Linked DNA regions of Homo sapiens: all the other regions are linked to region 1. The links are contacts of gene promoters, found by promoter capture Hi-C in blood cells and fetal thymus (Javierre and others, 2016). All regions are on one chromosome and are shown on one strand. Each heading gives the region's core, a stretch centred on a gene start or on the middle of the fragment in contact. The rest is flanking DNA. Distances are from core to core; before and after follow the strand shown. Region 1 holds the start of GDF6 (growth differentiation factor 6). Region 2 overlaps CFAP418-AS1 (CFAP418 antisense RNA 1). Region 3 overlaps CFAP418-AS1 (CFAP418 antisense RNA 1). Region 4 overlaps CFAP418-AS1 (CFAP418 antisense RNA 1). Region 5 overlaps CFAP418-AS1 (CFAP418 antisense RNA 1). Region 6 overlaps CFAP418-AS1 (CFAP418 antisense RNA 1).

Evidence for each region. The method cuts DNA at HindIII sites, captures the fragments that hold promoters and counts their contacts. A CHiCAGO score of 5 or more calls a contact.
Region 2: a contact is called between a fragment that was not itself captured here and the fragment with the promoter of GDF6 in region 1, in 2 of 17 cell types (total CD8 T cells and endothelial precursors). The highest score is 5.3, in total CD8 T cells.
Region 3: a fragment that was not itself captured here is called in contact with the fragment with the promoter of GDF6 in region 1 in 1 of 17 cell types (M2 macrophages); the score reaches 5.6 in M2 macrophages.
Region 4: a contact is called between a fragment that was not itself captured here and the fragment with the promoter of GDF6 in region 1, in 3 of 17 cell types (endothelial precursors, total CD8 T cells and naive CD8 T cells). The highest score is 7.8, in endothelial precursors.
Region 5: a fragment that was not itself captured here is called in contact with the fragment with the promoter of GDF6 in region 1 in 2 of 17 cell types (M0 macrophages and erythroblasts); the score reaches 5.4 in M0 macrophages.
Region 6: a contact is called between a fragment that was not itself captured here and the fragment with the promoter of GDF6 in region 1, in 1 of 17 cell types (M1 macrophages). The highest score is 5.3, in M1 macrophages.

The regions. Positions count from the first base shown.
Region 1 is chr8:96,159,281-96,162,980 of GRCh38, reverse strand. It overlaps GDF6 (growth differentiation factor 6), which reads left to right and starts at 2,175. Exons shown (of 2, transcript NM_001001557.4): 1 at 2,175-2,694. The coding sequence starts at 2,289. The HindIII fragment of the contact is 9,891 bases long and covers 1-3,700 here.
Region 2 is chr8:95,276,572-95,280,052 of GRCh38, reverse strand. The region is part of intron 1 of CFAP418-AS1 (CFAP418 antisense RNA 1); the gene reads right to left. Among named protein-coding and RNA genes, the nearest start is that of TRS-AGA2-5, 8.6 kb to the right of the region's middle. The HindIII fragment of the contact is 739 bases long and covers 1,659-2,397 here.
Region 3 is chr8:95,625,140-95,628,774 of GRCh38, reverse strand. The region is part of intron 3 of CFAP418-AS1 (CFAP418 antisense RNA 1); the gene reads right to left. Among named protein-coding and RNA genes, the nearest start is that of TRS-AGA2-5, 360 kb to the right of the region's middle. The HindIII fragment of the contact is 3,179 bases long and covers 445-3,623 here.
Region 4 is chr8:95,299,385-95,302,788 of GRCh38, reverse strand. All of the region lies in intron 1 of CFAP418-AS1 (CFAP418 antisense RNA 1), which reads right to left. Among named protein-coding and RNA genes, the nearest start is that of TRS-AGA2-5, 31 kb to the right of the region's middle. The HindIII fragment of the contact is 3,932 bases long and covers 189-3,404 here.
Region 5 is chr8:95,316,056-95,319,487 of GRCh38, reverse strand. The region is part of intron 1 of CFAP418-AS1 (CFAP418 antisense RNA 1); the gene reads right to left. Among named protein-coding and RNA genes, the nearest start is that of TRS-AGA2-5, 48 kb to the right of the region's middle. The HindIII fragment of the contact is 3,782 bases long and covers 1-3,432 here.
Region 6 is chr8:95,343,299-95,346,756 of GRCh38, reverse strand. It overlaps CFAP418-AS1 (CFAP418 antisense RNA 1), which reads right to left. Exons shown (of 4, transcript NR_038209.1): 2 at 2,312-2,474. Among named protein-coding and RNA genes, the nearest start is that of TRS-AGA2-5, 75 kb to the right of the region's middle. The HindIII fragment of the contact is 1,431 bases long and covers 543-1,973 here.

The DNA of each region.
Region 1 (3,700 bases), core at 926-3,425:
TATTTTATTTTATTGTAAATATTAACAAGCCATTTTAAAGCACAGAGAGAGGAAGGAAGAAAATATTATAGTAAAAGCACCTTCAAGTATAAGGTCTCAGAACTTGACAACCATGAAACCCAAACTAGGGGACATAAGTAGAATTGGGATAGGGCCAGAAGGGGCATCCACGGAGACCAAGGGGAGAGCAGCCAAGCTCAATAGCCCAGTGATTAAGAGCCCAGACTCTGGAGTAGTGTGACCCTGGGCCTCACTTTCCCTATCTGTAAAATAGGAATAATACAGCACTTATTTCAGGATTGCTGTGAAGATTAAGTAAAATAATATTGGCGAAGGGCTTCAAACCATGACTGACACACAAGTTCTCTGTGGGTGCTTGCCATTACCTGGAGGAGGCCAGTGTCCAGGGTGGAGGGCATATCCCAGACCTTAAGGAAGTTAAAGGATGAGGGGAGCAGCGCAGCAAAACTCCCTCCCCCTGCAGGCTGTCATGTGAGTGGTCCCTGCAGGACAGAAGAGGTGATGAAAAAGCAAAAGGAAGAAGGGGTTAGAAAGTGAGAGGGAGGAGATTGGAGAGACTGGGAACACACACAGAAAGTAGCATGGCGGAGAAAGAAGCCACCTGAGATCAAGTGAAACCATAAAGAGAAGAAAAAAGCCAGAACTGAAATAGAGAAGTTGGGCCAGGAATGACTGTCTATGCTGTAGTGGGAAGAATCTTGGGCTTGGGGTGGGAGCCTGGGTTCTGTCCCTTGCTGCATAACCTCTTGGCAGAGTGGCCTTGGAAAAGTCACTTATTTCCATTGAGTCTTTTTTTTTTCCATCCGTGAAGGTGAAAATAGTCAACGCCAACCTCACAAAGCTGTTGGCACGATTAAAGGAGGGTACTTTATGGTTGGTGCCTGAGCACCCAATCAGTACTGAGGGAAACTCTTCTGCCCATAGCAGTCCAGGGCAGAGCACTGTGGCAGACAGAAGCAGCGCTACGCCGCATCGCCTTTCAGCGTGCAGGCCCAGGAATGAGCGAGGCAGTGGGCGGGGAAGACAGGCACGGGGAATCTGGGGACAGATAAAGGAAACTCGTGATGGGGCGAGGCTGGGCTGAAGAGAAACAGATTGGGGTAGAGCTGCAAAGGGAGGGGTCCACTGGAAGGCGAGGGGGGAGGCCGGGAAGAGAGAGGGTGGGAAGGCAGTGTGAGATGGGAGGGCAGTGTGAGAAGAAAAGCAGGCTGGGGAAGAGGGATTGGAATGCAGAAGGAACTTGGGGAAGGAGGAAGTCCTGCAGGCGGGAGGGAAAGAAGAGAGGGAAAATGGGGATGCAGTGGAGGCGGGGGGCAGGCCGCGAGAGGGAGAGGATCCCGGGAGCAGACGAAGAAGTGGAGCAGCTAAAGTCTGCGTCAGAAGAGGTTGGGGACTGCGAGAGGAGAGGCTGGGGCCTGCAGGGGAGCGCAGCAGCTTTTAGCATCGATCCAAACTCTAAAGACTCGTGGCCTTTGCCTGACCTCGAGGGTCGGGAATAGACGCCTGTCTTTGTGGAGAGCGATACCCAACCGAGAAAATGGGGCTGTTCCGAGCTGGGCCCTGCGCCTGGCCCAGGGCGAGGCTTCTCTGGCTCCGGGCTGGCCCCTGAGGGGCGCAAACGGCAGGCCTGGCGGTTGGGGCCGAGGAGGGAGGGTACCACCGCCCCGAGGCAGCACGCAGCCTGCAGCAGAGGCGCCTGCTCCAAGCTGTCTCTTGGGGGCGCCGCCGCCGCTTCCCTCCTCCGGGGCCGCTCGCTCCCAGGAAAGTGGAGGCGGCTGGCGAGGACCGAGAGCCGGGGCCGCGCTGCGGAGGGACCACACCTCCGGGAGTTCGAGGGGGACCCTGGCGCGGCGGGCCAGCCTTTGCTCCCCGGCCACGGGCCGGCAGCGCCCGCCTTCCCCCGGTCAGCGCTTGCGGCCCGCGCCGCGCGCACCGCCCGGCAACCCCGCGCGCGTCCCGCGGGGGCGCTGCGTCTTCCTGCCACACCGGCGCACCGCGGCCCCTCTCCCCCACACCTCCGGCCCGCACCACCCGGCTCTCCTCCCACCCTCCCCACCCCTCCTCTGCCCTCCCTCCCCATTCCTCCCCTCCCGGCGAGGGGCGGGAGGGGGCGTGGCGGGGCCGGGGTTTGTGTGGCTGGGACCCGGCTCCTCGCACTCCGAGTCCGCCCGAGGAGCCGGGCCCCGGCCGCTGTCCAGCCGCTCCGTGCCCCGCGCGTCCTGCGCCGCCGCCACCGCCTCCTGGGGAGACGCAGCCACTTGCCCGCCATGGATACTCCCAGGGTCCTGCTCTCGGCCGTCTTCCTCATCAGTTTTCTGTGGGATTTGCCCGGTTTCCAGCAGGCTTCCATCTCATCCTCCTCGTCGTCCGCCGAGCTGGGTTCCACCAAGGGCATGCGAAGCCGCAAGGAAGGCAAGATGCAGCGGGCGCCGCGCGACAGTGACGCGGGCCGGGAGGGCCAGGAACCACAGCCGCGGCCTCAGGACGAACCCCGGGCTCAGCAGCCCCGGGCGCAGGAGCCGCCAGGCAGGGGTCCGCGCGTGGTGCCCCACGAGTACATGCTGTCAATCTACAGGACTTACTCCATCGCTGAGAAGCTGGGCATCAATGCCAGCTTTTTCCAGTCTTCCAAGTCGGCTAATACGATCACCAGCTTTGTAGACAGGGGACTAGGTAAGTGGCAAAGAAAACGCTCGACTCCCCTCCCGCTGGAGCTCGGCAGCCAGGGAGCTGTTCCCGCTGGAGGCTACATTTGTGAATTCCCTTCCTGCTCTGGACACTTCCTTTTTACTTTTCTTAAATTGTTTTTCTCAAGCTCGAGTAAGTTTCTGAATGTGGCTGCGGATTCTATTCCAGTCTCTAAACCTCCCTTCCTTTCCCCCCCTTTCTTTCTCTCTCCCTTCTTTCCTTCTTCCTCTTTTGCAGAAGGCAGCGTGGTTGCCGCTTGTTGGTGGCTGGTGGGGGAAACGTGGAGGACGGGAGGCAGCAGGCGGATGAACCCGGCTGGAGAGGGGTCGGGATGGGGACTGATGGAATCGGTGTCTCGGGATACTGGGTTCGCAGTCCAAGGCCTGAGCTGCTGGGGCAGATCTAGGGCATGAGACAGCCTTGGAAAGCCCTGGGCAAAGCCGGCACTAGGGAGTCCCACAGTCTGAGGAACTAGTCCGCGAGCGGCGTCGGGCAGCCCCCTGGTCCTGGCGCCGCGCGGGTTTTCCGTTGGTCCCTGCGCTGGGTGGGATGGTCAGCCGGGCTGGAGCCCTGCGCCCTCCGGCTTTTTTGCTCCAGCGTGGTGCTCCCGGCTGCTCCGAGGCCTCAACACGAGTGGTTTCTGCAGATGCGGCGGCAGCAGTTGGGCGGGCCGGGACAGGGACGGCTAAGTTCGGAGGTTGTGGGTACTTAATACACAAAGGTACATGGGTATGCCCATCCACCTTTCTCAGCCAGGCGACGTTCCTCTCTCTACGCTATTCCTGAGGGCTGGTGGGGGTCTGGGAAATCCCTGGTACCCTCTGTGGGAACGCCTGCATGTGTGGGTGTCTGCGGAAACCCTTGCGGCCCCTTCTTGCCACCGGCGTTGATCTGCAGCGTGGCCAGTGCCCTCAAGAAAACCTCGCACCACCTCTGGTCCCAGAAATCAGGGAAGGATCCACAGGCATCGGAAACTAAGCTCCTAAAGGAG
Region 2 (3,481 bases), core at 779-3,278, 880 kb after region 1:
AAAAGTTAAAAACTGTAAGAACAGATAACAATATAAACATTTACACACCTAATAAAAGACCATCAAAATATATGAGGCAAAAACCAACAGAACTGAAGGGAGAAATAGATAGCTCTACAAGAATAGTTGGGCACTTCAATGCCCCACTTTCAATTGTGGATCAAACAACTATACAAAATATAAATAAGGAAATATAAGACTTAAAAAACACAATAAACCAACTAATAATAGATTTCATAGACATATACAGAACACTCTACCCATTGACAGCATCCACATTCTTCTCAAGTACATATAGGACATTTTCTAGGATTGGCCATATGTTAGGCTACAAATTAAGTCTCAATAGATTTTAAAAGATAGATATTATTCAAAGTATCTCCTTCAACCATAATAGAATAAAGTTAGAAATCAATACCGAAGTAACTGAAAATTTCACAAATTTTTGGAAATCAAACAACACACTCTTAAACAACCAACCAATGGATCAAAAAACAAATCACAAGGGAAATTAGAAAATACTTAGAGACTAATGAAAATGAAAACAACATACCAAAACATATAACACAGTGAAAGAAGTGCTAGGGGAGACATATATGGCTGTAAACACCTGCAGTAAAAAACAAGAAAGATCTCAAATCTACAACCTAAGTTTCAACTTAATGAACTAGAAAAAGAAGAGAAAACTAAACCCAAAACTAGCAAAAGGAAGGAAATAATAAAGATTGGAGCAAAGATAAGTGAAATAGAGAATAGAAAATCAAGAGAAAATCAATAAAATGTGAAGTTAGCTTTTTGAAAAGACAGACAAGATTGACAAAGCTTTAGCTAGACAGAACAAGAAAGAAAAGACAGAAGATTCAAATTACTAAAATCAGAAATAAAAGTGGGGACATTACTACCGATTCTACAGAAATAAAAAGGATTATAAGAGAGCACTATGAACAATTATATGCCAACAAATTGAATAGCCTAGAAGAAATGGAAAAATTCCTAGAAACACAAAACCTACCAAGACAAGATCATGAAGAAATAGAAAATCCGAACAGACCTATAAGTAGTAAGGAGATTGAATCAGTAATCCAAAATCTCCTGACAAAGAAAAGCCCTGCACTTGAGGGCTTCACTTGTGAATTCTACCAAACATTTAAAGGCAAACTAATACCAATTCTGCTCAAACCTTTCCAAAATATTGAAGAGGAGGAAACATTTCCTAACTTACGCTAGAAAGACCAAGGGACTTAAATAGCTTTCGGTTCTAAGAGTTTTAGTCATACTGTACTTAGAGCATGGATATTGATCTGGATTTCAGTCACAGGCCAGTGTGCAAATTCAGCACATGACTCCTTCCTTGAAATACAGACTTATAAACTTTTCCTGGCTGACTGAACTTGCTGGCCTTTTCCTTTACACTCATGTCTCTTTTCTGTGTATGTAGGATGGTTACTGGAAAATGTTAACAGTATACAGACACATGTTACACAAAACATGGCAATAAATGTAGAATAATGAAACTGGCAAGAGGATTACAAACTTATATGCAATAACAGACCTTGAACTGGAAAGATCCCCCAAACAAAAATTTAAGAATTAAGTTGTCTGGTTGAGAAAATTTGTCTGCCAAGTCCTCACAAGTAATTAGAAAATCAAATAAAGCTTATTCCTCTCCTAGTCTCAGTTTTGTTTTGTTTTAATGAGAAGGAGAGACAACAATAAGATAGATAATAAAGCATGTAAAATATAGTACAGCATGGTAAAATGAACATGAATTTTACAGTTAGACCCAGGTTATATGACCTTGGACTAATAACTTTACCTCTCTGTCCTTACTTCCTTTTTTTTTTTTTTTTTTTTGAGATAGGGTCTTGCTCTGTCACCCAGGCTGGAGTGTAGTGGCGCAATCTTGGCGCACTGCAACCTCAATCTCCTGGATTCAAGTGATCCTCCCACCTCGGCCTTCCTAGTAGCTGGGACCACAGGTACACGCCACCACACCCAGCAATTTTTGTATTTTTTTAGTAGAGACAGAGTTTCACCGTGTTGCTCGGACTGGTTTCCAACTCCTGAGCTCAAGTGATCTGGCAGCCTCAGCCTCCCAAAGTGCTGGGATTACAGGCATGAGCCACTATGCCTTTCTCTGTCCCTGTTTCCTGATCTACAGTGATTAAGTAAAATAAGTTCTATAAAGAGCTCAGAATAAGGTAGGTATGCAAAAAAATATGTTATACACATGATGATACTATAGCCAACACATCATTGCCAAGAGGCATGCAGAGACCTCGATACCAGGATGACAAGGAGATGGAAGCCATTCCAGTATGGCTCAAGCTAAAAGAACTGACCTGAGCTTGGGCTTATTTGTCCATCAGACTACATCACAGTATTTAAAGGCAAGCTTAATCTGATCCAGGCTGGCACTTATACCCAAGGGCCTAGAAATGGAGGCCTAGAAAGATATGACTGTGGAGATAGTCATAGTCAAGTGGTTAACAATTTGATTCCAGACAGACTCATTCATGTTAAAACATACCCTTGGCCAGGACCAAAAGAGATAAGGGGCTGATCCCCCAAAAACAGGGGTCAGCACAAGCCAGGAGTTTGTCAGGGCCCTTGTACTAGGCTGAAAAATGGCCCCCAAAATGATATCAAATCACATCGAATCCCTGGAACCTAAAAATGTGACCTTATTTGGAAAAAGAATCTTTGCAGATGTGATTGAGTTAAGGATCTGAAAAAGAGGCACTTATCCTGAATAATCTGGGTAGGCCCTAAATGCAATCACCTGTATCCTTATAGAATAAACACAGAGGAGAAGGCAATGGGAAGACAAAGGCAGAGATTATACTGATGTGGCTACAAGCTACAGAATGCCAAGGAATCCCAATAGCCACCAGAAGCTGGAAGCAGCATGGAGCAGATTCTCCTTTAGAGCCTACAAAGGGAGTATAGTACTGCCCATAACTTGATCTCAGACTTCTGGCCTCCAGAACTCAGAGAATAAACTTCTACTGTTTTAAGTGGTGATTTGTTACGGCAGCCCTAGAAGACTCCTACAGCCCTGGACAACGCTTTGGGGTTTGGACAAAATTTCAGCCCAAGAACAGAAATGGAATTCAATCTAGAAGTTGAGTAGAAGCCCATCCACAAGGGTTCATGGAGAAGACAGCAGTGTGGCATTTTGCTCAATGCGTACCAGACCTAGGCCATCCAGACCAATTCCAGATCTAACCATGATGGGGAGGAGCAAGTCTTGGGTTAGCTAGGAATTGGGTTCACCTTGCAGATGGGATATTTCAACAGCCACAGCCAGGCTGGGCAAACAGGAACTGGCAAAGCAGTGGGTGATGTTTTGGCAATAGATGATAAATGTCTTCTACAATCTGACCACATATAATTAGAGATAATGTCAGTTTCAAAAGGAAAAACACAAAGGGTCAGAAAATATGCTGCTCTTGCTGCGGAAGGAATCTGTCCAAGGACC
Region 3 (3,635 bases), core at 785-3,284, 530 kb after region 1:
GGGAGATAAAGTAATTTGCTCAAGATCACGGAGCTAGTTAAGTGAGTGCCAGAATCAGAAATAAGAATTCCTAATCAATGGACTTTTCACTGTGAAGGTTATAGGGGATTACACAGGTTAACTGGAAAAAAAAATTCAATGGAGTAATTGCTTTAAATCATTTTTTCCAAAAATGTGAGCATAAATTGATGAATGAAAAGAAACAGAGTACTCCTGGTAAGAACTGGAGTCTTCCACAGCTTTCCTTGAAGTCAGCTGCCAATCTATACAGTTTACTGAAATTACTAATAGCAAATTAGAAATTACCCAAAAGCACTATCTTCAACCTCTTCACTTTTCCTGATTCTAAGGAGATCTCAAGATTTGTCAAGGAAATAAGAATCTCAACATCACACACACACACACACACACACACACACACACACACACACAATGATAGAAGCTTGTAAGATGCTTTGATTTTTTTTCCCTTTACCTCCATAGGGGAAATAAAACTGCCCTAGAGACCGAAAAGCAAATATTTTTCTATATATTTTTAAAACCAGAAAAATGGAAACCTACATTTTTGCCTTTAAGCTATGGTCTATGGCTTGGACAGGTGGAATGAGAAAAAAAATGTAGTACCAAGACTCATCTCTTCTTTCTCTCTGGCTACATTCAAGAAAAAAAACGGAGCCCTCTGGTGGTAGAATTACTATATTCACAATTAAGTTTCTAACATAAACCCTTTTCAGTAATCTAGTGGCAAAAACTTAAATTTTATATCCAGAAACTTGGCAACTCTTAATCTTCAAAGAACATTTTATTAAAATGAGTGTAGCTCTTTATATAGTCACTAGTTTTATATAGCTCTTTATTTTATGTAGCTCTTTGTGGTATATGTATGTTTGGGGGAGCAGGGGTGGTCCCTGGCAAGGGGTTTAAAGCTAATAAATATTTAAATTCTAGAAATGGCACTTCTTAAGTTATGTCGATTAGAGGTTAGAAATAAGTTCCAGAATCACTCCAACAATTAGATCATTTTGATAGTCCCTCACCCTCTCAAATATAAAATAGTTTCAAATATCAAAATATTTGGTAACCATTGTGGTTTATTTGGAAGTTTTACCACATCCTATATCTAACATTTAAACTTCTTCATTGGTAGTTACAATTGTTCCTTTGCAAAGCACCATGGAAACATGTAGCTTATAAGACCAATGAGTTTATGAGAGGTAAATTAGGCTATCACTTTTATAAGATGCCTTCTAGTTCATAGGAATTGTCTTTTGGAACTTAATCCTGTTGACTTTGGTGGTCGATGGGAGGCAAGAAAAACTATTCTTTGGTTCCCACATTTTTCCCCCTCACTGCAGGGAAACAAGAAAACACAGATGCCAGGAATGCAGTCATTAGCAGAAAAAGTTCAACTGCCTGGTAAAATTAAGGAAAAAAAGACAACAATTGCCTAATTTGATTCTGAAAGTTTTTGTTTTATTTTTAATCATCTAGAGTTCAGTTTGAAATAAGTTGATTGATCTAGTACCAGCTAAAAGGTACTGCTTTACTTCAAAGGCTTTGTTGGGAAATATCATTTAGTAGTGTGAAAGGTCAGAAGTAGGGTAGACACACGTTTTATATAACTCACCACATAAGCAAACTTTACCTAGCCATTACTTCGTTTATTTCCTTAGAGCTCACTCTGGATAATTCTCAGACTCGTGTTTTATTTTCAGAAAATCGAGTCTCCTCTCTTCTTCAGTCACACAAATTGCATCGGTTCTTAAAGAAAGCCATACCTCAGGACCTCACAAAGAGGTATCTATTACCAGGAGCTCTAAGCAAATGTTCTTTTAATTAGCTACATTTATCTTTAATCCCTGTTTTGACAGAAACTCTAACATAAACATACATTACCAATACATAAAACCCAGCTCAAAGTATGGTTAATTTTTATATTTGACAGAGCCAGTTGGAAAAAATAACTTTGCCCTTTCTCCATCTTTGTGTGATGTCACTACAACCTAGTCTCAGAACCAAAGACAGAAACAGTGGCATCTGCAGCTACAGCACAATCATGACTCTTAAACTGCTCCTTAAAAGTGGCAATAAAAACCCTAATAAGACCTCTGGGCCTTATGTTGAAGCAGCTGCAAAATCAAGTTAAATAATTTTTGCAAAGACTACAGTAATTATAAAACTGATTAAAGTTTACCTACACTTCATTCCTAGAGGGTTTTCACCAAGGACTTAGAAACCAGATGGTTCAAGACTATGCATGATGGATATATTCCATGAAGCATGTCCGTTGTCATGGAAACAACAGAAATAACATTATCTTTACTGTCTATTCCTTCACAAAACCATGCATTCAAAAGTTGCCACCAATTTAAGTAAAATTCAAACAAATATTGGATACCAGGTCAAAAACCAGCACCTCTACCCACATTTAATCCTAAGGCCCGACTGCTGGATTCACTTAAATGTCTTTAGTGAATACAGCTACTTTCTATAGGAGTGTTCAAAGATAGTCTTCATAATTTTCAGAATTTTAATACTTTTTGAAGAGAATTGGAAAAACTAAAGATTCTGAGGGATGGGAGCTGGGGCTCAGAGATTACCCCTCTCCAAGACGGGAGAATTGTTAGAGAGAGATCATCTGCCCCGGATGGCCCTGTGGCAAAGCAGCTCTGCTTCTCCCTAAAGCTAGCTCTTCTGGCTACATCCAAAACTTATCCCTACTTTCCTGCTAAGGAATTATTTTATCAAACTTATGCTTTCTTTCTGCAGCATCTTCAATCATAGCAATAACAACAATCAAATATGTATTGAGCACCTAGTATGTGCCTGACATGCATCATGCCATTGCATTCTCACAACTGCTCTACAACATAGGTATCATCATTGTCCCTTGTTTTTGTTTGTTTTGTTTTGTTTTGTTTGAGACGGAGTCTCACTCTGCCTCCCAGGCTGGAGTGCAGTGGTGCGATCTCGGCTCACTGCAAGCTCCACCTCCCCAGTTCACATCATTCTCCTGCCTCAGAATCCCCAGTAGCTGGGACTACAGGCGCCTGCCACCACGCCCAGCTAATTTTTTGTATTTTTGGTAGAGACAGGGTTTCACCGTGTTAGCCAGGATGGTCTCGATCTCCTCACCTTGTGATCAGCCCGCCTCGGCCTCCCATAGTGCTGGGATTACAGGCGTGAGCCACCACGCCTGGCCCATTGTCCCTGTTTTAAAGATGAGGGAACTAGAATGATAATACACACATGAATCCTCCAGGCATCTTTTCAAAATACACAGACCTGAGGCAAAGACCAGGATTCTGCATTTCTAACAGGCTCCGGGTGCTACAAATGAATGTTAGTCTGTAGACCACACTTTGAGTAGCAAGGACTTGGTTGGTTAAGAATCGTTCCCCATCTGTACATGTATCCCAGGACTTGAAGTAAAAAAAGAAAAAAAGAAGCATGTCCCAAACACCCACTTCTGTACACTGAGGTCCAGTTCTTAATCACTATGCTCTCTTGTCTCTCAATCCATTATTCTTAGCAGCCTCTACTTAAAAGTAAACAACTGCAGCAACTAAAAGTTCTTAAAAACCCTGACAACTACCAACCCACTCTTTCTCCTCAACCAAGCTTTTCAAACCAAG
Region 4 (3,404 bases), core at 905-3,404, 860 kb after region 1:
CAGGCATATGTGACATCCTGTGTGCCGCCTTTGTCCATAACCCACAACCCACAGTAGGCTGCGGTGGTTCCTCAAAGCTGAGACAGGGTACTTTCATTCTAACAAATCCCAGCACGTGCTCCCCTAACATGTCTGTTTTACTAATTTTACATTATATACAATTTTTCATTTTAACCTAAAACAAAGCTTTCAGTTTTTCTCAAATAGCATGGCAGGTTTCATTAAATCAGATTATTGCCCAGTTCCCCCTTCTCTTTCATCAAAAGAAGGGAAGATAGAAGCAGAAGAAAAGTAGAAACAGTCCAAGGCAGTAATATAGCAAAGTGAAAAAATGTAAAGGAAGTTTAACTCTCATCCCTCCTCCTAGAGATCCAAGGTCTCAGAGACAGAACAGCAGCTTTTCTTTTTGCACCTCACACATTGAGAGAGACTAGACTTCACTTCCTGGCAGCCCTTTCCATTCCCATTTCACAGCAACGGCTGTAGACACAGCATTTCTATCTTAGTTACACCAACCTTTTGAGTTCTGAGCAGAGCACTAAAGACTCACGATGTGTTTAAGGCCAAGGTCGCTTGGGGACCAAGATAGAGAACCCAGAAACATGTTTGGAACTTCAAAAATGCTGGGGAGGTTGGGAGGCCTAGGAAGTGGGGGTGCAGGATTCACTGCAGTTGCCTCCATCCCCACCCTTCCACCACTAGCCTTAGATAAGCAGACAAGGGTTCCAGTCCTGGCTTTGCCTGGGACCTTGGAATAGCTCTGGCCCGAGATAAGCCTGAGAAGGGCTAGAGTTTGGAATGGTGGGTTTGTCTGCTTCATAGGAGTCCTTAAACCTGGGCCCAGGCATTTTCCTCCTGTCGGCCCCCAAGAGCAAACCCCAAACGAGCTGACTTCCTAGTGCATTGTAAGCACACCTGAGAGAAATCACAAGCATACTCTGAGAACAACCTCATATGGCAGACGCACCCGAATGTGTTCCGAGATAGGGAATCCGTAAGTCACCAACCCGGAGATTCATTCCTTGTCTGTTAGGAACATCTGAGCCCTCAGGCCGTCCCGTGGAACATTGGCCCTATGGGGGATGGAGGCCCTGAGTTTGGGGGTGGGGAGTGCGGTACATGAAAGCTACCAGGTGGAGATCATTAAGGAGAGGGTGTTAAATGAAAATGCTGTATAAACTGAATGCTGTTTGCAAGCAATTGTGGTTTTCCTGCCCAGCCTGCTGCCACTGGACCATACGTACAGTGGTTATATTGTCCAGCCCACCACCACTGGATTGTTTCTATAGGTAAGGTGTCCAGCTCGCCACCACTGGACCCTCTCCCCTGTAAGTAAGTCCCAGTAAAACCCCCAAGTCACATTTGCTAGCTCTAGGTCTCTTCTTTGGCCTCTTGAACTTGGTGCCTTCTCTATTGAGGTTAATAGGGGTTCAGCACAACACCTAGGCTTCCAGCACACCTCCCCATCACACCCCCCACCTCTTCTCCCCCATCAGATCCTGATTCTTTCCCTCAGCCTCAGAGTTCTGAACCCTGGCCCTATCCTCTAGCTATCAGCCCCAACTCTTGCCCACTGATATTTGAAGGTCTTCTTACCTCTCCTGCAGTTGCCGTTGTTCTCCCATAGATCCCTCTGTGGTCCCTCCATCGGCAAGTTCTTCCACGGCCTCAGAGAAAGACATCACCCTTCAGACTTTGGTTCTTTAGAATTTCATCCTGGTAGCCCCGCCTGTCCTCACCTAGGCTGCACTGATAAAGGTGCTGAGTCAAGCCCCCACGGCCCACCAAGGCAAGTTCTCAGGGCACCCCATCTTCCCAGTTGATCCCAAACCATTCCCTCTCACTCTTGTCTTGCTTACTATAAATCTTGCTTCTGTCTTCAGGCCCTCCAGATTAAAGACTTACCCATGCTCTCGTAGCACGGGAACCTCAGCTTTTCCCCATAGTTGGTGTCAACTCCCTGATCAAACTCAAACACCCCCATAACATGCTTCTATTGTTATCCCCATTTTACAGACACGAAAGTCTGCCAAAGAGAGCTTAGGCTGCTTGCCTAAGGAGTCTGAGTACAGACTCAAAATCTTCCTACACCAGTGGTTCCCAAATTTCAGTGGACATCAGAATCACCTGGAGGGAATCAGATGGCTGGGATTCAATCCCAGAGTTTGAGTCAGTAGGTATAAGATCTGATTATTTGCATTTCTAACAAGTTCCCAGGTGATGCCAATGTTATTGGTCTAGGGACCACACTTTGAGAACCACTCACCTACACTCTTGCTTCTGTACTTTTCACTACACTTTAAATAGGCCAATGAAGTCATAATCATTAGAGGTGAGCCCTAGACACCAGTGTTTTTTAAAAGCTCTCCAGATAATTCAAATGTGCAGGCTGATTTGAGAACTACTAGATATAGTCTTGCCAATCAAAGCATACTGGCAGCATCAACACCACCTGAGTCCACTCAGACCCTATTACCGGATGGAAGGTCTTGACTGAGTTGTCCAGGTTCTTGGCATGTTGAACAAAGAACGGAATAAAATGCACAAACAAAGCAACAAAAGAATGAAACAATGAAAGACAAACAACAACAAAAAGTAACGAACGCACAGATTTATTGAAGCGAAGCTACAATTCACAGAGTGGGAGCAGACTCCAGCAAGTGAAGCAGCACAAGAGCACCCCCCCCCACCAACAACAATTAGGCTTTTTATTAAGTTACAAAAGTTTAATAACTCCCCTAGATGCACTTTAGAGGCCTCCAATTGGTTACACCCTATGAAGGATTGGCCTGTGACCAATTAGAGGCTGAAGTGGAAACTTCTGTCTTGTTATCAGAGGAGCAAGGATGTGGCCTGTTTGCTGCCTAATCTTGCCTAGAACTCGCTGCACCTGCTGTTCTTTCCGTATACCTTAACCCTTGGTTACCCTAATTCCCTGTTCTCCTGCCTCACCCCCAGGTGATTGATATCTCATTAAAATTTAAGGAACGCTGATAAACACTCTACTGCCTCACAGTTCCTCCCCAGCTGTTCAGCCCTTTAACAGAGATCCCAGGCAATCGCTGTATCAGGTGGGGTTCTACCAGAGAAACAGAACCAGTAGGAGATCTTAGTAAGAGATGTGTTCCAAGGAATTAGCTTACAAGATTGTGGGACTGGCTAAGCAAGTCTTAAATCCAAAGGGCAGGCCATCACCCAGGACAGGTTGCAGCTCTCAGGCAAAGGCTGAAGGTGCTGTCCCCAGGCAGAATTCCTTCCACTCTCAGGGATACCTCAGCCTGCTTTTAAGCCCCTTCAATTGATTGAATCAACTCGGATTATTCAGGATAATTATCCCTTACTTAAAGTCAACTGCTATGGACTTTAGTCACATTTACAAAATACCCTCATAGTTTGAATGAATA
Region 5 (3,432 bases), core at 297-2,796, 840 kb after region 1:
ATGTGGGCAATATTATCATTGACATCTTACCGTGAAGAACCTGAGACCCAGTAACATTAAATAACTTGTCCTGGTCAAACAGCCAGTTCATGGCAGAGCCAAGTTCCAGGTTCCCACTCAGGTCAGACTCCAAAGCCAATGTTAACATCAACCATTGCCACCAAGAAATCAAAGCAAAAAGAGGCTGATATATTTTTTATGTCCAATCCACATGTCTTCTCTGGACCTATATTTCACACACATCATCCTTATAACCCAGAGAGAGGGAGATACTGTCATTGCCACATTACAGATAAGCAAACAAGCCCAGAGAGGCATTTAATTAGAATCACATAGCACAGATGTGTCTTAAGATGAGATTTGAAAAGCATAGCATGTGCTTTTTTTTTTTTTTTTTTTTTTTTTTTTTTGAGTTGGAGTCTCATTCTGTCATCCAGGCTGGAGTGCAGTGGCATGATCTTGGCTCACTGCAATCTCCATCTCCCGGGTTCAAGCAATTCTCTGCCTCAGCCTCCCGAGTAGCTGGGATTACAGGCATCCGCCACCACGCCTGCCTAATTTTTGTATTTTTAGTAGAGACTGGGTTTCACCATCTTGGCCAGGCTGGTCTTGAACTCCTGACCTCATGATCCACCTGCCTCAGCCTCTCAATGTGCTCATGTGCTTTTTACTACATCTTTGTGTTAGCCAGCATTCTTCCAGAGAAACGGAAGCAATAGGAGATAGATAGATAAAAGTGGAGATTTATTATGGGAATTGGCTCAGACAATTACGGAGGTGGAGAAGTCTCATGATATGCCATCTGCAAGCTGGAGAACCAGGAAATCACTGGTGTAATTCATCTGAGTCCAAAGCCTAAGAACCACAGAAGCTAATGATACAGGTCACAGGTCAAGTCTAAAGGCCTGAGAACCAGCAGCAGAGGGAATAGGGAGCTGGCGTTGGCTACTGGGGTAAGCCCTGGAGTCCAAAGGCCTGAGAACAAGGTGCTCCGATGTCCAAGGGCAGGAGACGATAGATGTCCTGGCTCTAGAAGAGTAAATTTGCCCACTCTCCACCTTTCTGTTCTATTCAAGCACTCAATGAATTGGATGATAGCTGCCCACATTGGGGAGAATGGATCTTCTTTACTCAGTCCACAGATTCAAATGCTAATCTCTTCTAGCAACGCCCTCACAGGCATACCCAGAAATAATGTTTTATCAGCTATCTGGGCATCATTTTACCCAGTCAAGTTGACACCTTAAATTAACCATCACAGTTGCTGTCTTTCATGAAAGGAGAACCATCACATCCATGTTCAACAACTAACTAGAAAAAGTTATCAGGCCTTTGCCTGAACCTACAAGAAAGTTGAGAACAAAGAGCTACAGTTGTTGCTTAGAAAATTTTTTAGATCATCTAAGAAGACAAAACCATTTTATTGTTCTCAAATAAAAAGATCTGTTTGCCTCAGACTATCATTTAAACAGAGTTTTTGGCTCAGTGGTGTACAGTCATTTGGTTTACCTTTCAGTAATATCCTGATGTCAAAAGGTAAGGAACAGGCTAACATTTTCAAACAGCGCATGGAAGGTTTGAGTCATATTGTTCCCTTTGTCAGAATCTGGAAGATCTTGACTTTCCTGCAGTTTCCTTTAGCCTTTTTGTAGTGTGGAGGATCTGATTCTTGGTGAGCTTCTGATTATTAAGTTGTTTGGTGTTTTTTTACACCACTGTGACCCACAGTCTCTGTGCAGGCCATATGGCTGATAAGAAACAGTATGTCCCTTGTTGCATAATTTCCTATCCGAAGTCATGCCAGGAAGACAAGATATGAAAGTTAAACAGACTGGAACTCTTCTACCCTGCTGATAAGAATGTAAATAGGTACAACCAGCTTGGGAAAATGTTTGCCTGGCAGTGCCTACTAAAGCCAAACACGTGTATGCCTGTGATATAGTCTTTCTTCTCTTGGGAATATCTCAAACAAAAATCAGTGGTTTCAAACACTAAAAGACTTGTATAAGATTGTCACTAGCAGCTTTATTGTAGAAAGTCATTACTGGACACAACCAAAGTGTTCATCATCCATAGACTATGACATGGCAATAAAGAAAAAACTACTGATACTCTCAACATCATGGATAAATATCACAGATATAATGTGCTTCCCTATCATGTCAGTAGCCTGCTCAAGGAGCTACAGGAGCCTCAGGTTGTCTTTCCTATGAGATATAAATGTGCCTTCACTGTCCCAGTCCCAAGGAATCAAATTCTTCTCTTGATTCACCCCATGAAGACCCCTCCCTTGCAGCCAGGGAAGTATCTCCTATGTTAGTCTTATTCACTTTCATTATTTGGAGTCAAGTAACCCTAAATTCTACTATCACCTCTAATATTCTTTGCATAACCCTAGTCTTAGTTTCCTCCTCCCAAATAAAGCAAAAAATTCCTACCACATTGTAAATTAATAAAGGAGATTTAATTTTTGAAGACAGTGGTAAAGCACTAGCACAGTGTCAGGCACGTATGACTGCTCAACAATAATTAGTTTTCTCACCTACCTGGCTTTTCCATTCGCATTTCTTCTCAGCCATCTTCCAGCCTGGAATTAGCACTTCCCACCAACAACTCCATAAACTCCCCTCTAAGAAACATGCCCTGACAAAACCAACTCTGTCTCCACTTTGATTTCCACATAATCTGCATTATCTATAGTCTAAACTAACTACAAATATGCATGCTTTATCTGTAAATACTTCCTTTATCACATCCCTCATTCAGGCCCCATCCTGGAACCCAGAAATGTACACACAATGAATTCTCAATCACATGTGGGCAATTTTAATTGTTAGGTATGGGAAGAACTGGTGAAAATGCTGCATGATGGTAACAACTACCTGTTAGGCTGACTTAAAAAGAAGGATTTAGACATGTTAATAAACGATCTACACTTCGGTAACTATTAGTCATGCTTGCCCAAGCAACTCAAGAGTAAGGAAAATATCCATTTTACTAAATTACAAGACTAAAGAACTATTAGGATAATTATCCCATAACAAATGCCAGAAATAAGTGGTTATATTGACTTAATTTTATAGACACTTTCCAAAGTATATATTCTAGCCTTACCAAAAAAAGGGCAGTACCATTGCTCAGATTTTACTAATCCATGAGCCCCTGGGAAGAAAGCCCTAGGTTTATCCTATAATGGCAGCTGGCCACTTTTTCTGTGGACATAAAAGAAATTCAATTTCTCCGGACACTTTTTTCCTCTGCTACCAATGAGCTCCAGGGACTGGTAAACTCCTAAAGGAAAACTATTAAAAAAAAAAAAAAAAAAAACCATAATCCAGAAAAAACAAAATCTAGCTAGTTAAACTATCACCAATAAGAAACATAAACAGGAACCATTTTCAGTTGCTTGGAATCAAAAGCTCAATTTTTAAA
Region 6 (3,458 bases), core at 9-2,508, 820 kb after region 1:
AAAGCAAGCTAGCAAGAAAGAAAGACCATTCCAGATCAACCAATACACCCTATGGGCAAGATGCGGAGACCTCCCAGTTCTTTGTCCCTGCATCCATGCAGCTGCAAGGGGGAGCTGGTGGTCAGGACTTTGATGGGAGCATCAGAGGCTTGAAAAATAGGCAGACACTGTTCGCCTCAGCAGTTCAATGTCTAAGCACCTAGCCTAAAGAAATAAACAGAGTTATGAGCAAAAATGTGCAGCTCAAGGATGTTCATTGCTGTGTTGCTTATGGTAGAGAAAATGTACCACCAAACCAAATCTGTAAGGTAAGAGATAAAATACAATGCATATCCTTGTACTTAAATTCGGTGCAACTATTAAAATCCTATTTTAGAAGAATATTTAATGACATGAACAAACTGTTCATGAAGTATTGAGTAAAAAGAACAGATTCCAAAACAAAACATACTATACAGTGTAGTATACATGCTACACCACGTGATGATTAAAACTCAAACTGAGTTTAAAGGTTCCTTTGCCACTTACTATCTGTGTAAGCTTGGGCAAGGAGTTAAACTTTCTGTGATCAGTTTCTTCATCTATAAAATTAGATTAAAACAGTACCCACTTTATGGAGTTATTGTGAGGTTATATTACTTATTATACAATAAGGCACATGCTAAGAATTTAAACAATAGCAATTATGAATATTGCATGACCTTAATTTGTGATAAATGTATGTGGTATATGAACATATATATATACTTGCACTCACACATCGCCATAATATATATGTATGTTATGTATGTTTTCCTGCCTATACTTGTACAAGAGGAAGAGAGAGGGAAGGGGAAACAGAGAAAGGAGACTGAAAGTTTTAAAGGATTAACACAGAGAATGTTAAAAGGGTTATCCCAATAGAATTATGGATGACTTCTCTTCTTTGCATTTTTCTCTATTTTCAAATTTTTCATGAGAATGATTACTTTAATGACTATTAGGGTCAGAGAAGATCCCCTACTTCATCCATGCTCTGAACCAAGTTAGAGAGTGTCAAGGACTCAGCAAGATGGAGATCCCAGTATCATCCTTATTATTAATAAACATTGTGCACATGTGTATGTACGTATGTCATGGCCAAGACTGGCCAAGAAACATGATAACTTTCCACGGGATTGAGCTTATGCCAAAACCCCAGGCTCCAGTCTGGGAAGAGTTCATGCCTTGCCAGGCTTCCTGCCAGTCTAAAGGTAGAGAAAGATGCTACTGCCTTGGGCTCCCAGAGAGAGGGCTGACCTGGCTGGGCTCTCAGCCCCATTCCTTCTCCAAAGCTCTCCCACCTTGAAGGAGTAAGAAAGGAGGCCAGGAGTATCTCTCCAGTGGAGCTCCCTTTGCTCTGAAATGTGAAGTCTTGGGAAAAGTCCCCCAATCCCAACCACCTCCCAAACACAGTAACTAGAAAAGCAATGTTAAGGGAAGTCCAGACCCTCCAAGGTGTGGGTTCCAGACTTTCAGAGCAATTTTGAGATTGTGATCCCTACTGTAATATATTCGACAGGACCTCTCAATAATCACTGATAGTTCAGGTTCCCCTCTGAGATGTAAAGGAAAACCTCACATCAACTCTGATGATCTAAGTTCGTCGCTGATTATGGGAAAGAATGACCTGCTGAACTTTCGCTTTCAAAGGGTATTTAAAAAAAGAAAAGGAAGAGAGGCCATGCCGACTTTTAGATTCAATCACATCACAGTGATCTGTGATATTTACAGCGCCCAGGTGCATTTCACCTGATCCAAAATATAAATACCCTTTTGCATGCATAGGTACGCATGACCTGCTGTTTAGCCTTTTAATCACAAGGAAAAAAATACATTTATTTTCTGAGAACTGTAATGTATAAGCCCCTGAAGCACTCTGTAGTGCAGCATCTGGAATTCATCACCAAGGTTATGCTATTCAAACAGCCAGAATAAGGGAGATAGGCTAAGCTTTCAAATGTATACAAACATGGAAGTGGGCTGAGGCAGGGCAGATTAAAAGCCCATCTTCAACTTGATTTTGCTCCTGAACAATTAATTTGCAGGTTGAATGGAATTTACTAATAGGACTAAGGCTGCCAAAGCCATTAAAAACATTGATCTAGAAGCAAAAAGCTGGGGGAGGTTGAAAGTCTTCAAAAAAATCCAGATACCTCTCAATATATGGCTGTTTTTTTAGACTTAAGGGTGTGTGTGTGTGTGAGTTGCTTCTCATTGCTGAAAACCAGAATCCTACCACATTTTTACCATAAAATAATCAGGGTGGTGTTCTGTAAACTGTCCCAGGTACCTTACTGGGGCTTCCTGCCCCTCAGAAGTGCTGCAACTTTGATGAGCTTTTAAGTAATGGATCATTCACCAGGCGTCAGACTGCCTTGTGCCGAGCACTGCTCTTAGTGAGGGTTTTATAGCCCAGATGAGCACCTAAGTCACCCTGACAAGGCAGAGCACACCTGCAAAAGAACCAAGAGCCACATGAGGGAATTCCCAGGTCAGACACCTAGACTGAAGAAGAGTATGAATCATAGAATCACAGCTGACTTTAAATCCTGGCCCTGTTTCTTTAGAGGTTGGAAGGCTTTGGGTACTGACCACAGATTCCCAAAATGTCAGAACCAGAGAAAGCCTGAGAAATGGTATAGGCTGAGTGCTTTTTAAAATTTTCTTTAGACATAGACGTTGACCTTCAAACAATAATTTTCTGTAGAAATTCAGACGTCACAGAGCTAATTTGTTTTTTGCAGGGTGAGGCGGGGAGCAGGGCAGAAAATGCCTGCTTGCTACTCACCCCCATGCCTGCAGTGATACCCTTGAATCACATCCACAAGACTCCCAAGTACCCAAATAACACAGAAAACTAGTGGTCTCATACACCCCTTGTGTTTTACAGTTGGAGAAACTGAAGCCCAGAAAAGCAAAGTCACTGCCCCAGTGTTACTCAAGGGCTGAATGACAGAGCCAGATCTGGGATCCAGGATGTTTTGCCATGTGATGATGATGGTCAGCCCCTCCAAGGGATCAAAAAGAAGGGGAAAGAAGAAACTTGTCTCTGTGGTATTCCCCACCCTCCCAGCTAGCACCCTCTTTCTGTATTATCTCTCAGTTACCCAGTGCCCTCATCCTAACCTTCTGTTGACAAATATTCTCCCTCCACCACTCATGTAGCACACTCTGGTCTTCCCTCCCTGAAGTATCCTATCCTCCAAACCTCTTCTGTCTCTTACTCCCTCTTAAAACTTATCTGTCCACTCTCTTGTTCACTTAAGACCCCACTTGCTGATCAACATGTTGGCAAATAGATCCATAAACATATTTTTGGATGCTTATATATTATCTAATTAATTTCTATAATTACATTTTGACAACAGCCTTCTAAATGCTCTTTTTAAAAAATAACTGTAAGAGGATATTCATGCTGATCACCAGGAAGTTTTAGA